2 separate regions of the Homo sapiens genome follow, and region 2 is linked to region 1. The links are contacts of gene promoters, found by promoter capture Hi-C in blood cells and fetal thymus (Javierre and others, 2016). All regions are on one chromosome and are shown on one strand. Each heading gives the region's core, a stretch centred on a gene start or on the middle of the fragment in contact. The rest is flanking DNA. Distances are from core to core; before and after follow the strand shown. Region 1 holds the start of DIAPH1 (diaphanous related formin 1). Region 2 holds the start of SRA1 (steroid receptor RNA activator 1).

Evidence for each region. Contacts are between HindIII fragments. The CHiCAGO score rates a contact against its expected background, and 5 or more counts as called.
Region 2: the fragment with the promoter of SRA1 here is called in contact with the fragment with the promoter of DIAPH1 in region 1 in 2 of 17 cell types (neutrophils and non-activated CD4 T cells); the score reaches 7.6 in neutrophils.

What each region holds. Positions count from the first base shown.
Region 1 is chr5:141,615,660-141,621,861 of GRCh38, reverse strand. DIAPH1 (diaphanous related formin 1) reads left to right here and starts at 2,862. Exons shown (of 28, transcript NM_005219.5): 1 at 2,862-3,064. The coding sequence starts at 2,948. It overlaps HDAC3 (histone deacetylase 3), which reads left to right. Exons shown (of 15, transcript NM_003883.4): 15 at 325-981. The coding sequence ends at 394. RefSeq lists silencers at 2,508-3,167, 3,228-3,277, 3,088-3,284. The HindIII fragment of the contact is 3,913 bases long and covers 81-3,993 here.
Region 2 is chr5:140,554,276-140,560,304 of GRCh38, reverse strand. SRA1 (steroid receptor RNA activator 1) reads left to right here and starts at 2,832. Exons shown (of 5, transcript NM_001035235.4): 1 at 2,832-2,877; 2 at 3,033-3,158. The coding sequence starts at 2,853. APBB3 (amyloid beta precursor protein binding family B member 3) reads left to right here. Exons shown (of 13, transcript NM_133173.3): 13 at 1,484-2,037. The coding sequence ends at 1,720. RefSeq lists enhancers at 2,403-2,462, 2,553-2,912, 2,778-3,599 and a silencer at 4,123-4,272. The HindIII fragment of the contact is 6,646 bases long and covers 1,428-6,029 here.

The sequences.
Region 1 (6,202 bases), core at 1,613-4,112:
TATTAATTGTACTCTCCATCATCTGAAATTATTATATTTATTTACTTTGTTAGTTACTAGTCTCATTTATTAGGTAAGCTTTTTGAGGATAGACAACCTTGTCCAGCTTGTTACTCTACTGTATTGCTAAGGTTTATGACAGTGTCTGTATAGAGTAGTTCCTTAATGTTTATTTGATACGTGAATGGGTGAATGAATAGCAGTCTCTACCAACAAGAGGAGGAGTGGTTCTCAACGGGGCCTGAGAAATGGCTTTGGAAAAGGGTGCTGGGAGAAGATTAGAACTTAGAGTGAGATCCTGACCTCTCTCCCCTTGCTTTGCAGGCCAGAGGCACCCAATGAGTTCTATGATGGAGACCATGACAATGACAAGGAAAGCGATGTGGAGATTTAAGAGTGGCTTGGGATGCTGTGTCCCAAGGAATTTCTTTTCACCTCTTGGTTGGGCTGGAGGGAAAAGGAGTGGCTCCTAGAGTCCTGGGGGTCACCCCAGGGCTTTTGCTGACTCTGGGAAAGAGTCTGGAGACCACATTTGGTTCTCGAACCATCTACCTGCTTTTCCTCTCTCTCCCAAGGCCTGACAATGGTACCTATTAGGGATGAGATACAGACAAGGATAGCTATCTGGGACATTATTGGCAGTGGGCCCTGGAGGCCAGTCCCTAGCCCCCCTTGCCCCTTATTTCTTCCCTGCTTCCCTCGAACCCAGAGATTTTTGAGGGATGAACGGGTAGACAAGGACTGAGATTGCCTCTGACTTCCTCCTCCCCTGGGTTCTGACTTCTTCCTCCCCTTGCTTCCAGGGAAGATGAAGAGAGAGAGATTTGGAAGGGGCTCTGGCTCCCTAACACCTGAATCCCAGATGATGGGAAGTATGTTTTCAAGTGTGGGGAGGATATGAAAATGTTCTGTTCTCACTTTTGGCTTTATGTCCATTTTACCACTGTTTTTATCCAATAAACTAAGTCGGTATTTTTTGTACCTTTCGCCTTTCTAGGAATGTTAATTCTTGCTAGTTTCCTATTTATGAAAGGAGAGGGAAATGGGCATGATGATGCATGTAATAAAAGCATAGTTAACATTCATTCAGCACTTATCCTACGTTAGGCCCTGTGTATGTATTCTACATTTATTATTGTAAATATAAGAAGTTAATAGAGGATTTTGGTTAAGAGTTAGACAAACCTGGGCAGATTTGAGAGGAGTAGAAGATGACTTCAGGTTTTTGAATCTGGGTGTTTAGAGTAGTGATGCTAGTTGGTGAAGATACACTGAGATAAAACATGTTAAGTGCTTAGCACAGTGCCTGACAGAAGAAGTTGCCCATTATCTGTCTATGTGAAGAACAATGCTAAATACTGTAGTAGCCACAAACATGAACCTTTCTCTAGAAGAGTTTACATTCCAGTCAGTAGTATGATAAATATTGTAGCAGATACAGACTGATACAAGAAAGAGGACTGATAGATGGGTCACTTCCTCCCCTCCATTCTCTGATTCTGTCTGTTCTCAACACTAGCTTAGAAAGTAGCTTTTGGACTTTTTAGACAAAATGTCTGGAAAGCTCAGCACTAAGTCAAGTTTGAAGTATGGGATGGACAGCTCTATGTAACATTCTATCCGATCACCATCAGAAGGTCTGGACCACAAGAGAGATGAATGCCAAATTTAGGAGCCAGCCAGCTTGGCAGAGTCCCTGGTATATCTCAGGCCCTTGACTAGGTACTGGGGCTCTAGAGTAAGTAAGTCACTGACTCTGCCCTTCAGGAACTTATGCTTGAAATCTTGCTAGCTGTGGTCAAGAATATTCAGTCCATATTGTGAAGGCCGACTGGTAGCCACGTAACTGTCACACAAGGGACAGATGTAGCTGGGAGAATGGATGAAATTGCTTAGGGAGAAAGTCATGCTAGAAGAGCAAAGAATATACTCTTGGAGAATACTCATTCTTTTCACTCATGTTTGGTTTATGTCAGTGGGGAATCCTGGTTAAACATAGGGTTTGGCAGCAAATCAGACTAAGCTGGGTTTAAATTTTATATCAATTATGCGTTCTTGGGCAAGTCACTTCAACTCTCAAAAGTCCAAATTTACTATTTATAAAATGGTGAGGCTAGCAGAATCTATCACATGGGACTGTGGGGACTTAGAAAAATACATGTAGAGTGTTTGCCTAGTGCCTAGCAGAGAGCAAAGGGCATGGTTAAGTGGTAACTGTTATTGCTGTTTAGGCACATGTTGGCAATAATTAGTTTGTCCTGATTAGAAACAATTAGATGGTACCTAACCTGGAATTCGAACTAGGAAATTAAACTCCAGAGCGAGTCTGGTTTAGTCTAGTGCTTGCCCTGGACCGAGCTCTGTTCTTGCTACCTTGCTTTCAAAACATGGTGGCTATCACTATAATTTTTTTCATGTGTTCCATGGGTATTGCACACATTGAAAACTGCATTCTCTTGGAAAACCTGTCACTAATTTTCTGCCAGGATAATGGTCTCACGCGATTTTTGGTCTGGGATGTGAGAGGGTCCAGGCTGTCAGGCTGTACAGCCACGTGGGCGCTGCGTGGGAGCCAGAGGCCTGCGCTGCTCCAACCGCCAGGGGGCGGTGCTCTCCGCCGCGGCCGCGGAGAGCTGCACCGCCCACTCACCACCCCCCCCCACGTGGGTCCGAATGGTTAGGTCCGCTGGGCAGGTAGCGCGCTTCCGCGGCTTCCCTCCGCCCCTCTCCCTTCCCCCATTGGTAGGGGCTGCGGGTCCGGGCGGAAGTGGGGCAGGCGGGCGGGAGCGAGGCGTCGTCGTTGTATATTCATGAGGCGCGCGCAGCCCGGCATGCTAATGAGGCGGGGCGCGGCGGCTGGCTAAAGAGCGACTGGGCGGCGGCGGGCGCGGAGCTGCCAGGCGGGAGCGGCGTAGGCGCGGGGTCGCCGGCCAGCGTGAACCGGGACATGGAGCCGCCCGGCGGGAGCCTGGGGCCCGGCCGCGGGACCCGGGACAAGAAGAAGGGCCGGAGCCCAGATGAGCTGCCCTCGGCGGGCGGCGACGGCGGCAAATCTAAGAAATTTGTGAGTGTCCCTCCCATCCCGCTCCTGCCTGGCCCCGTAACCGCCCTCTGGACCCCTGCAGCCGGCCCCTGGGGCGCCTGCCCGGCTTTGGGGAGCCGCCCCCGCGCCTTCCTTCCTCGTTTCGCTCGGTCCGCAGCTCTGCAGCCCGACATCCTCTCCCTTCGGGACCTCGGGAAGCCCCGGAATCCCACCCGGCTCTTGCCCCGGCCACCTCGGGGCTTCCCTCGTTCCCCAGCCCTTACATTCTGCCCTCCCGCCCGCATATCCCCGGCCGGCTCTCAGCCCCGTCTCTCCCCTCTCAGCCTCACTTCCTTTCTTCTTCCTCCAGTACCCGAACACGCCTCCTCTTTTTTGGTCCCCTCTTCTGGGTCCATTTTCTCTTCTTAACCTTACACCTTTTTTGGTATTCTCGTATTTCCTTCTCCTAAAGGTCACTTCCTTCTCCATGATTCATCCTTTTTACCTGCTAACTTTCCTCCCGCCCAGTCCCCCGTGGGCCCTCCGCCCGGTGTCACTTGATAATCCTTCCCCTGAGGAATGTTACCTGACTTGAGCCCTACCCCCAACTCCTTCTTTGGACGTTTGTCCTTGCGATTACAGGAATGGGCTCCTGCCCAGGTCCTATGGTCACTGGGGCATGACGTTTATTTGTTTACCAGTATTCCTCTCTCCAGAGAACCTCTCTCTTTGCCCTGTTGCTTATCACTTTTCAGAGGATTAGAACTCTCATGATTGTGCCCTTCTTGACCTAGGATGGTGATAAACCTCTCCTGTGGGAAGAAAGTTGGACTGCGAGTTCAAGAAGTTTGTAATTGAATTGTTTTTTATACATTTCCCATGATAACCGTCTCCTCTACTCCTTTTCTACTGCCTCTTGTGCCCCAAGGCGACTATCGGCTTCCCTTTGCGTGCCTGTAGAAGAGTAAGCTTTCCTCAAGTGCCAGTTACTTTCAATCCGAGTGAAGGAATAGTGATATACATGTAACCCTATCATATTTCATTACCTTTTGCCCACACCAACGCCTCTCTCCAGGGAGCCGTTTGGTTGCTTTTTTGCTATAAAAGCTTTGTAAGATACGGGGCACTGTCCAGGAGAGGAAAAGTCTTGGATATTGATGATCATTATAATAGCTAGTTATAACTGTAGCTCTTTTGTCTTCTCTTCCAGGTATTTATGCCCTTACACTAGTGTATCTTTCTACTAAACAAATGGCTTGTAACTCTTAGTCCCACCTCCCAACATTTTGACCCAGCTCCACAAATTTGGGAAGAAAACTGATAAAGCGATGGAAACAGGAAGAAAATGTTGTTTTATGACCTAGAGGGTTGAGATGTTAACCCTGGAGGGTTAGATGTTTAATTCTAAATAGAATTAAAATAGTGACTCATCTCTTCCTATTTCTAGCAAGACCAAGTGCTCCTGGACTGCCCTTTCCAGTGATATCTGAGATGTCAGTAACCATCTGTTTTTATCTGGTGAACATCTTTTTTTCCCCCCCTAGAAATATAAGGTTAAGGGTATTGACACCCCCTCCTTCTTTGGTGACTAAAGCAGCATTTTTGTATGTTTCTTTAGGATAAGAATTGACCCCTCCCCCCCGTTAGCTTTCCTTCCAAAACTTAAGTTCTAGGGCTCATATTCCTTCTATTTCTGTATCTTTTTGTTTTGATTTTATTTCCATGAGTACTGTTTGACCTTCCTCACCCAAATTCCAGCTATTGCTGCTGACTTGTGGTGACCTCAGTGACTTGTTTTCATGTCTTGAGTAGAATTTTATATGTACTCTATTTTATCTAACAATTATTTCACGAACTTGTGAAGTCTACTATGTGTGTGGTACTGTAAGGTGAGAAACCTGAGGAAGCTCAACCCCTTTTCACCTGTCTTTTGGAATGTCCATGAAGTCTTCTATATGTTTAATGGATTTGGCTCAGGGTTGTAGGTATTTGCTTTAGAGAGGATGGAGCTGAACCAAGTTCTCTTTTCTTTCTGCGGTGTTAGTCTTAACCCTTAATCTGCTGAATTTTTAAAACTAAATAGCTCAGGTAATGAGGAAAATTGCATTAGTAGCTACGGAATTGGAAGGTTTCTAGGAAAGTAGTGCTGCTTAACCCTTTTATTGCCAAATGTAACCTATCTCAAGGCATCAGAATATTCTTTCTTCCTCTTGCTCCTTTTATGAGAACTCTGTGGAAATGAGAGATGAGGAGGAGCATTGCAATCCACTTCTCTTTGTGTCTGTGTATGTATACGTGGGTGGGTGGAGTGGGCGAGATTGCTGGTGTGCTTTTGATACCCGTGGCTTAGTTTTCTTGAACTATAGGCTAAAACTGAACTCAAAGGTCTTTCGCCGCCTCCACCTTTTCTAGAGTATGTGTCCTCTGGAACTCCATTAAGAATGTACTGTATAAAACTGCACTGGTTTGGACTAAGTGTGCCCGAAGGTTGTTTGCATTTGAGGGTTTATAATTCCTTTAGCTGCTACATACCTTTCCTGGCTTATGCAGGTTCTAAATACGGATTAACTGGTGAGAACACAGAGCTCACAAATTGTCTGAGATCTGCTCTTACCCTCTGAGGCATCTTGTGTGGAAAGGAGATGGACCCTCAGTTTAAAAGTGGTTGGGCATCATCTTTTAAAAACACATGATTGTTAGACGTGCTGACAGTGAGTGGCTGAAGCCAGGCTGCCTGGTATTACCCCTTGGTTCTTCATGAGTCTGTCTTCTCCTGGGCCATGAGCATACCCCTTCTCCGGCATTATTCCATTTCCTTTCACAAGTCCTTAAGATGAAGGAAAATAAAAATTTTAGGTGAACAGAGGGTTTTCTGACTTTTCAGCAGTGATCAATGTGGGTGTCAAATAGACTGATTTCCAAAATATACGTAAGGGGAATAAGTAGAACCGGGATGTTAGGAGGCTGCAGAGTATTCTTACATTTAATAGACTTTGTATGCACTCTCATATAATCGAGAAAGTGATGCATTGTAAGAGAGAATATTGCTTCCTGATTTAACTAGGAGCATTAGCGAGAATTTTTTTTTTCTTTTTTTGAGATGGAGTCTCGCTCTGTTGCCCAGGCTGGAGTGCAGTGGTGCAATCTCAGCTCACTGCAAGCTCCGCCTCCCGGGTTCAT
Region 2 (6,029 bases), core at 1,583-4,082, 1.1 Mb after region 1:
TGGGTGGGAATGGGTTGGTGGGATTGCCCTGCAGCTGCTCTCCACTGTTTACTTGGGCTCCGGGTCGGCAGCCTCTTCAGAGATCACAAACCTGGGCTGATTCTGGTTCATTAATGTTTTGGCCCTCATGTTGTTTTTAGTAAGTTTTAATTAGTTGCCAATATTTAAAGGCCAGGACATTTCACATAATAATCGCTATTCTTGTTTTTCTTAAAATATCAAGAGCTCTGGCACTCAGTTCACACGTGTAAGTGTCAGCATGCAGCCAGAGTTGTGCAGAAGCTGTGCCCTAAAGAGTTGGCATTGTTCCTGTTTGTCTCATTTAGGTTTATTTCCTGGCATCTGTGGGCATTTGAGTGTGGGTTGCTTATACTTCGTTAGTTCAGTTTGCCCATTCATTCAACAAATATGGGTGCCTACAGGGTCCCAGACACCATAGCTGACCCTGAGAATTTAGTGCTGTAGAGGGCACAGCCCTTGCCTTCACAAAACACTTAGGATAGAGCCAAGATAGACCAGAAATAAGTTGTACACCACTGGTTGATGGAAGAGGTGGCCCCTTTAGGGGTCAGGAAGGCTACCTGTAAGAGGTGATAGAAATCCGACAGTCCAAGAGGGAAGTTAGCCAGGTGAAGGGGAGTGGGGCAGGTGTACCAAGCACAGGGAACCTTAGCTGTGAAGGTGAGAGATATTAGTGGATGAGAGTATCTGAAAGAATCTAGTGTATCTGGCATGCAAGGGGGACGTAGTGAGAGGTGAGATCAGAGAGAATGACAGAAGCCAGGTTTGGGGGACCTCATAGGTCAGGGTGATGAGTTTATCTGGAGGCACTAGGAAGCACTGGAGCCCGAGAGTGAAGTCAGGGTTATGGATTAGGATGACCACTTAAGCTATAGTATGGGTAAAAGATTTGGAGGACGTAATAGGAGGTAGGAAGGCCAATTAGGACACCTTTGAGCTGTTCAGATGAGATGACTGGGAGCAGTTGCATTGGGGCTGGAGTTTGAGTTGTACACCTTTACCCTTGACTAGGGAATCTGCTTTGCCAGGGACTAGTCCCCACCAGTGAGAGATGGAAAAGAGGCAACATAGTGGTACATGTAATTAAGAGTTTAGGCTCTGCAATCAGAGAGAACTAGGTTTGAATGCCATTTCTGCCTTTCTCTGGCTGTGTGACCTTGGGCAAGTCATATACTCTCTGAATCTCAATTTCCTCTTTTGCAAAACAGGGATAATAACCCCTCATAAATAACTGAATTATACAAAGCACTTAGCAGTGTCCAGCCTGCCCTCCTTAAGTGTCTGATACATGTTTTATGATTTTGTTATTGAGCTACCTGGGAATGCTCTAGAAACTCCACATGTGGCTGACTACCAACCTTGTTATCAGACAGAAGCTTTGGCCAGTTCCCTGTCCTGCAGAAGCTTTCAGGGAGTCTAGAGGCAGAAAGTAGCTGGATCCTCACATTCCCCTTCTCCCTAGGTTCAGTACCAGAAGTGTCTTGTGGCCTCTGCAGCTCGAGGCAAGGCCTGGGGTGCCCAGGCCCGTGCCCGCCTGCGGCTCAAGCGGACCAGCTCCATGGATTCCCCAGGAGGTCCCCTGCCCCTCCCCCTGCTCAAAGGAGGGGTTGGCGGTGCAGGGGCAACCCCTCGAAAGCGGGGTGTCTTCTCTTTTCTTGATGCCTTCCGGCTGAAACCCTCTCTGCTCCATATGCCCTAAACTTATCTGGGAAGGCTGGGGAAGTAGGCTCTGGGTCCATGCCTAACTCTGTACCGTTTTATTCCTCAAGGCCTATAGCCTGTCACTCCTTGAAGCCTTCTCTGCCTGTCCCTCCGATCCTTGTCCACCGTCTATTTATTGCCCAATTTATTGTTTATACGGATGACTGGGAGGCACTGCACCACAACGTAGGACCCTGGCTCCCCTTTCCTTGGGTCCTTGTGTTCCTTGCCCCTGTCCAACCCTGGACAGTTGGCTCTACCTCAGTAACACTTTATAGCAAAATCAGTGCAAATAAAAATCCCTCAGTGACCTCACTGGATGTGAGTATATTGGGCCTGGGACAGGGCTGGGGGCTAACACCCTGTGTGAGATGAGTGTCTTTGTGTCTGTGCTTGATGTTGGTGGCTCTCTGTAGTCACATGACAGCATGGGTGTGATGGAGATCTGACTTCATTCAACAAACATATTTTCTAAGGAGTTCCCTGTGCCAGGCACTAAGCTGGGCACTGGGAATGTAATAAAATAGTCAAGGTCCCACCTTCTAAGACTGTCCGACAGGGAAACGAACAAGAGTCAAATAAGGCAGAAGATGTGATGTAATACACCTACGAAATCTCAGAGGGTTGTAGGGTCGTGGGAGCTCAAGTGAGACACTTAACCTGGCCTGAGACATTCCAGAAGGCCTCCTGAAGAACTGACATCTGAACTGAGAACTGAAGGAAGATGAGTACTAGTGAGGCTACCGGACGTGAATGTGGAGATTGTGCAGGGCAATGCAAGAGGAGGCTGTAGAAGTCAACCTGGCTAGATCACAGCGGGGTGTATGTGGGGCAGGAGCTTCTTTGTTTGAATTTGCTCCTGAGAGGATGAGGCCTCCTAGAGCACTGGCTCCTGGACAGCAACCTCCTTTGGTGCCTTGTGACCAGGGCCCTGATGGTTCATTAGATGGAGCCTTCGAGTCTTAGGGAGTTGCCGCAGGGTCCCCACAGCGGCTCCCGACGGTTGTGAACCAGCATCCATCCTCCACGGATTCCGGCAACCCGCCTGGCCCTGGACGTGTCTCAACTGGCCCGCGTGAGGGGCCGCCCCGGAAATGACGCGCTGCCCCGCTGGCCAAGCGGAAGTGGAGATGGCGGAGCTGTACGTGAAGCCGGGTGAGCGCAGCCGGCGGGCTAGGGCACTAGGTTGTCGCCCCGGCCTAGGCTGGGGGCGGTTGCGGCGCTTAGTATGGACCCTCTGTCTCCCCCAGCCCCAGTATAAGCTAACAGTGGAGTTCCGGGCTCGCTTCACACATCCCTCGCCTCCGCAGGCAACAAGGAACGCGGCTGGAACGACCCGCCGCAGTTCTCATACGGGCTGCAGACCCAGGCCGGCGGACCCAGGCGCTCGCTGCTTACCAAGAGGGTCGCCGCACCCCAGGATGGATCCCCCAGAGGTGCGTGGGGCCCCTGTGCTCGGAGACAGACGGAGAATGGGGGGGGGGGGGTGTAAGGCATAAGCCTGTTTGGAAGGCTTTTTTCTCTCCCCGAGGGCTCCTTAAGGAGAGAAGTTTTGGGGCTCCAGTAAGGGTCTCAGAGCAGGTGCTTTTCCGAGCCCCTTCTCTGCTGCTCAGGTTAATAAATGGTGTATTGATTTAAAAAGACTATTTTTTCATCCTAGATGATCTTATCCAGACCTGTGGCTTTTAATATAGTTTTAATCCTGAAGTTATTTTTCTTTGTTAACCTATACCTCTTGCCAGAACCGTATAGTGGCATATTCATTTGTCCATTCTGTCTTCACTTAGGTATATGATAATCGTCAGACTTCACAGTTTTTCATTCATTTAATCACTGTTATTTACTGAGCACTTCTATAAGTCAGGCACTGTTTGAGGGCGAACTAGACAGCAGTGAGAAAAAAAAAAAAAAGATCTCTGCTTTCAGGAAGTCCACGTTGCAGCACTGGAGATGGGCTGAAAGATGAAATAGTGGTGAGGGTGCTACAGAAAATAAGCGGTGATGTAATATGACTGGGTAACGAGGTGTCTGAGGGGCTGACATTTAAGCCACACAAAGATCATGTACAAAAGCATTCCAAGCAAAAGAAACAGCTGCAAAAGGAATAAGTTTGGCCAATTCAGAGACTGATGAAATACAGAGTGGCTGGCTACAGCATAGTGGGCTTTGTAAAGCAGGATGAGGAATTTGTATTTTAATCTACATAAAGTTAGAAGCCATTGAAAAGTTTAAAGTAGAGGAGAGCCACCTTTCCCCCCGAGAATTTTCCAAGCCATTAAATGGGCTGTGCCGTGGCCCCCATAAAGGGGCTCAGGTTTGGTTCTTTCAGTGGCCCTCCATTCTCCACACCCTTTTTGCTGTAGAAGAATGATACAAGGCTTGGTTTCTTAAACTCAGCAGTATTGATAGGTTGTGGCCAGATAATTCTTTGTGAGGGACTTTCCTGTGTCTTATGTTAATCAGCAACTCTGACTTCTACCCAAAAGATGTCAGTAGCATCCACCCAGTTGTGATAGCCAAAAGTGTTTCCAGACATTTGCCCTGTGGGCACTATCTTCCTAGCTTGAGAACCAGGGACTGATTTACATTTTGGAAAGATCACTGTGTCTGCTGTGTGAAAACAAGATTTTAGGGAAGTGGAAAGACAAATTACAGCTATTATGGTAATATAGGCAAGATTTAATGATTTGCATAAGGGTGGGAGTCAGGGTGGTAGGAGTTGGATGGATATGAGATGGAGAAGGTCAGTAGGAATGAGTAGATTAGGAAGAATCCATATAACTGAATTTTTTTGCTTGATATAGGAAGACTGGGGATGGTGGTTTTGGGGAGGGGGAGTTTTTTTGGGGGGCCATGTGAAGTTTAGGCTGTTACTTTTGGGGAATGTTCTAGGCCAGAATTAGAGAAATAAGTCACCATTACAAGGATGGTATTTGATGTCATGGGCTTGAATATGGCCAGGGACAGAGCCGTAGGGCACTCTAGCATTTCAAGGTTGAGAAGGAATCAGCAAAGGAGATTGGGAAATGGCCAAAGAAGAAAAAAGGAGAGGCCAGGCGCAGTGAGTCACGGCTGTAATCCCAGCACATGGGGAGGCCAAGGTGGGCAGATCACCTGAGATCAGAAGTTCAAGACCAGCCTGGCCAACATGGCGAAACGCTGTCTCTACTAAAAATACAAAAATTAGCTGGGCCTGTAATACCAGCTACTTGGGAGGGTGAGACAGGAGAATCGCTTGAACCTGGGAGGCGGAGGTTGCAGTGAGCCGACATCGCACCACTGCACTCCAGCCTGGGCGACAGAGTGATATTCTGTGACAAAACCAAAATAAAAAAAGAAAATAGGAGAGCGTAAAGACATGAATCAATAGTAATGAATGCTGCTGAGACATCAAGATAGAGACAAGGGGCCAGGCGCAGTGGCTCACGCCTGTAATTCCAGCACTTTGGAGGCCAAGGCGGGTGGATCACGAGGTCAGGAGTTCAAGACCAGCCTGGCCAACGTGGTAAAACCCTGTCTCTACTAAAAATACAAAAAATAGCCAGGTGTAGTGGCGGGCACCTGAAATCCCAGCTACTCGGGAGGCTGAGGCAGGAGAATCATTTGAACCTGGGAGGTGGAGCCTGCAGTGAGCCGAGATCGCACCATTGCACTCCAGCCTGGGACTCCATCTCAATAAAAAAAAAAAGAGCGACAAGGAACCAGTAGATTTGACAAACATAGCAGTCACTCGTGATCATAACAAGAGCAAGTCTCTGCAGTAGTGAGAACAGAAACAGCTGGAATGGGCTGAGGAGAGAATGTGAAAAGTAGAGAGAGTGACTATAAAGAGCTCACTCAAATGCTGCTGCAGAGATAAGAAATGGGACAGTATCTGAAAATGGAACATGAAGTAAGGGAGTGTTTTGATAGTAATATACTAGAGCATGTTTGTACACTAACGGGATGATTCAGTAGAGAGGGGGAGCTGATGATGCAAGAGAAGATAGTTACAGTAGGGAAGTCTAGAGAAGACAAGAGAGGCTAGGATGCAGAGTACAGCTGGTAAGATGGCTTTTGATAGGAGCAGGAACCTTTTCATCTATTACAAGAGGAAGAAAAGTGGCCACAGATGCAGGTGGGTTAGGAGGAATGGTGGTGGGAAGATGAGAGAGTTCTGTTTAATGACCTCTACTTTTCAATGAAACATTAGGCAGTGTCAGAAGAAGATAGCAAGGAAAGGAAGAGAAGTTCTGAAGAGTGGAAAAAATGAGCCAAAATGTCCAGGCAGTATTTGGTACCTTTTAAAATCTGTGGCCATGAATTTA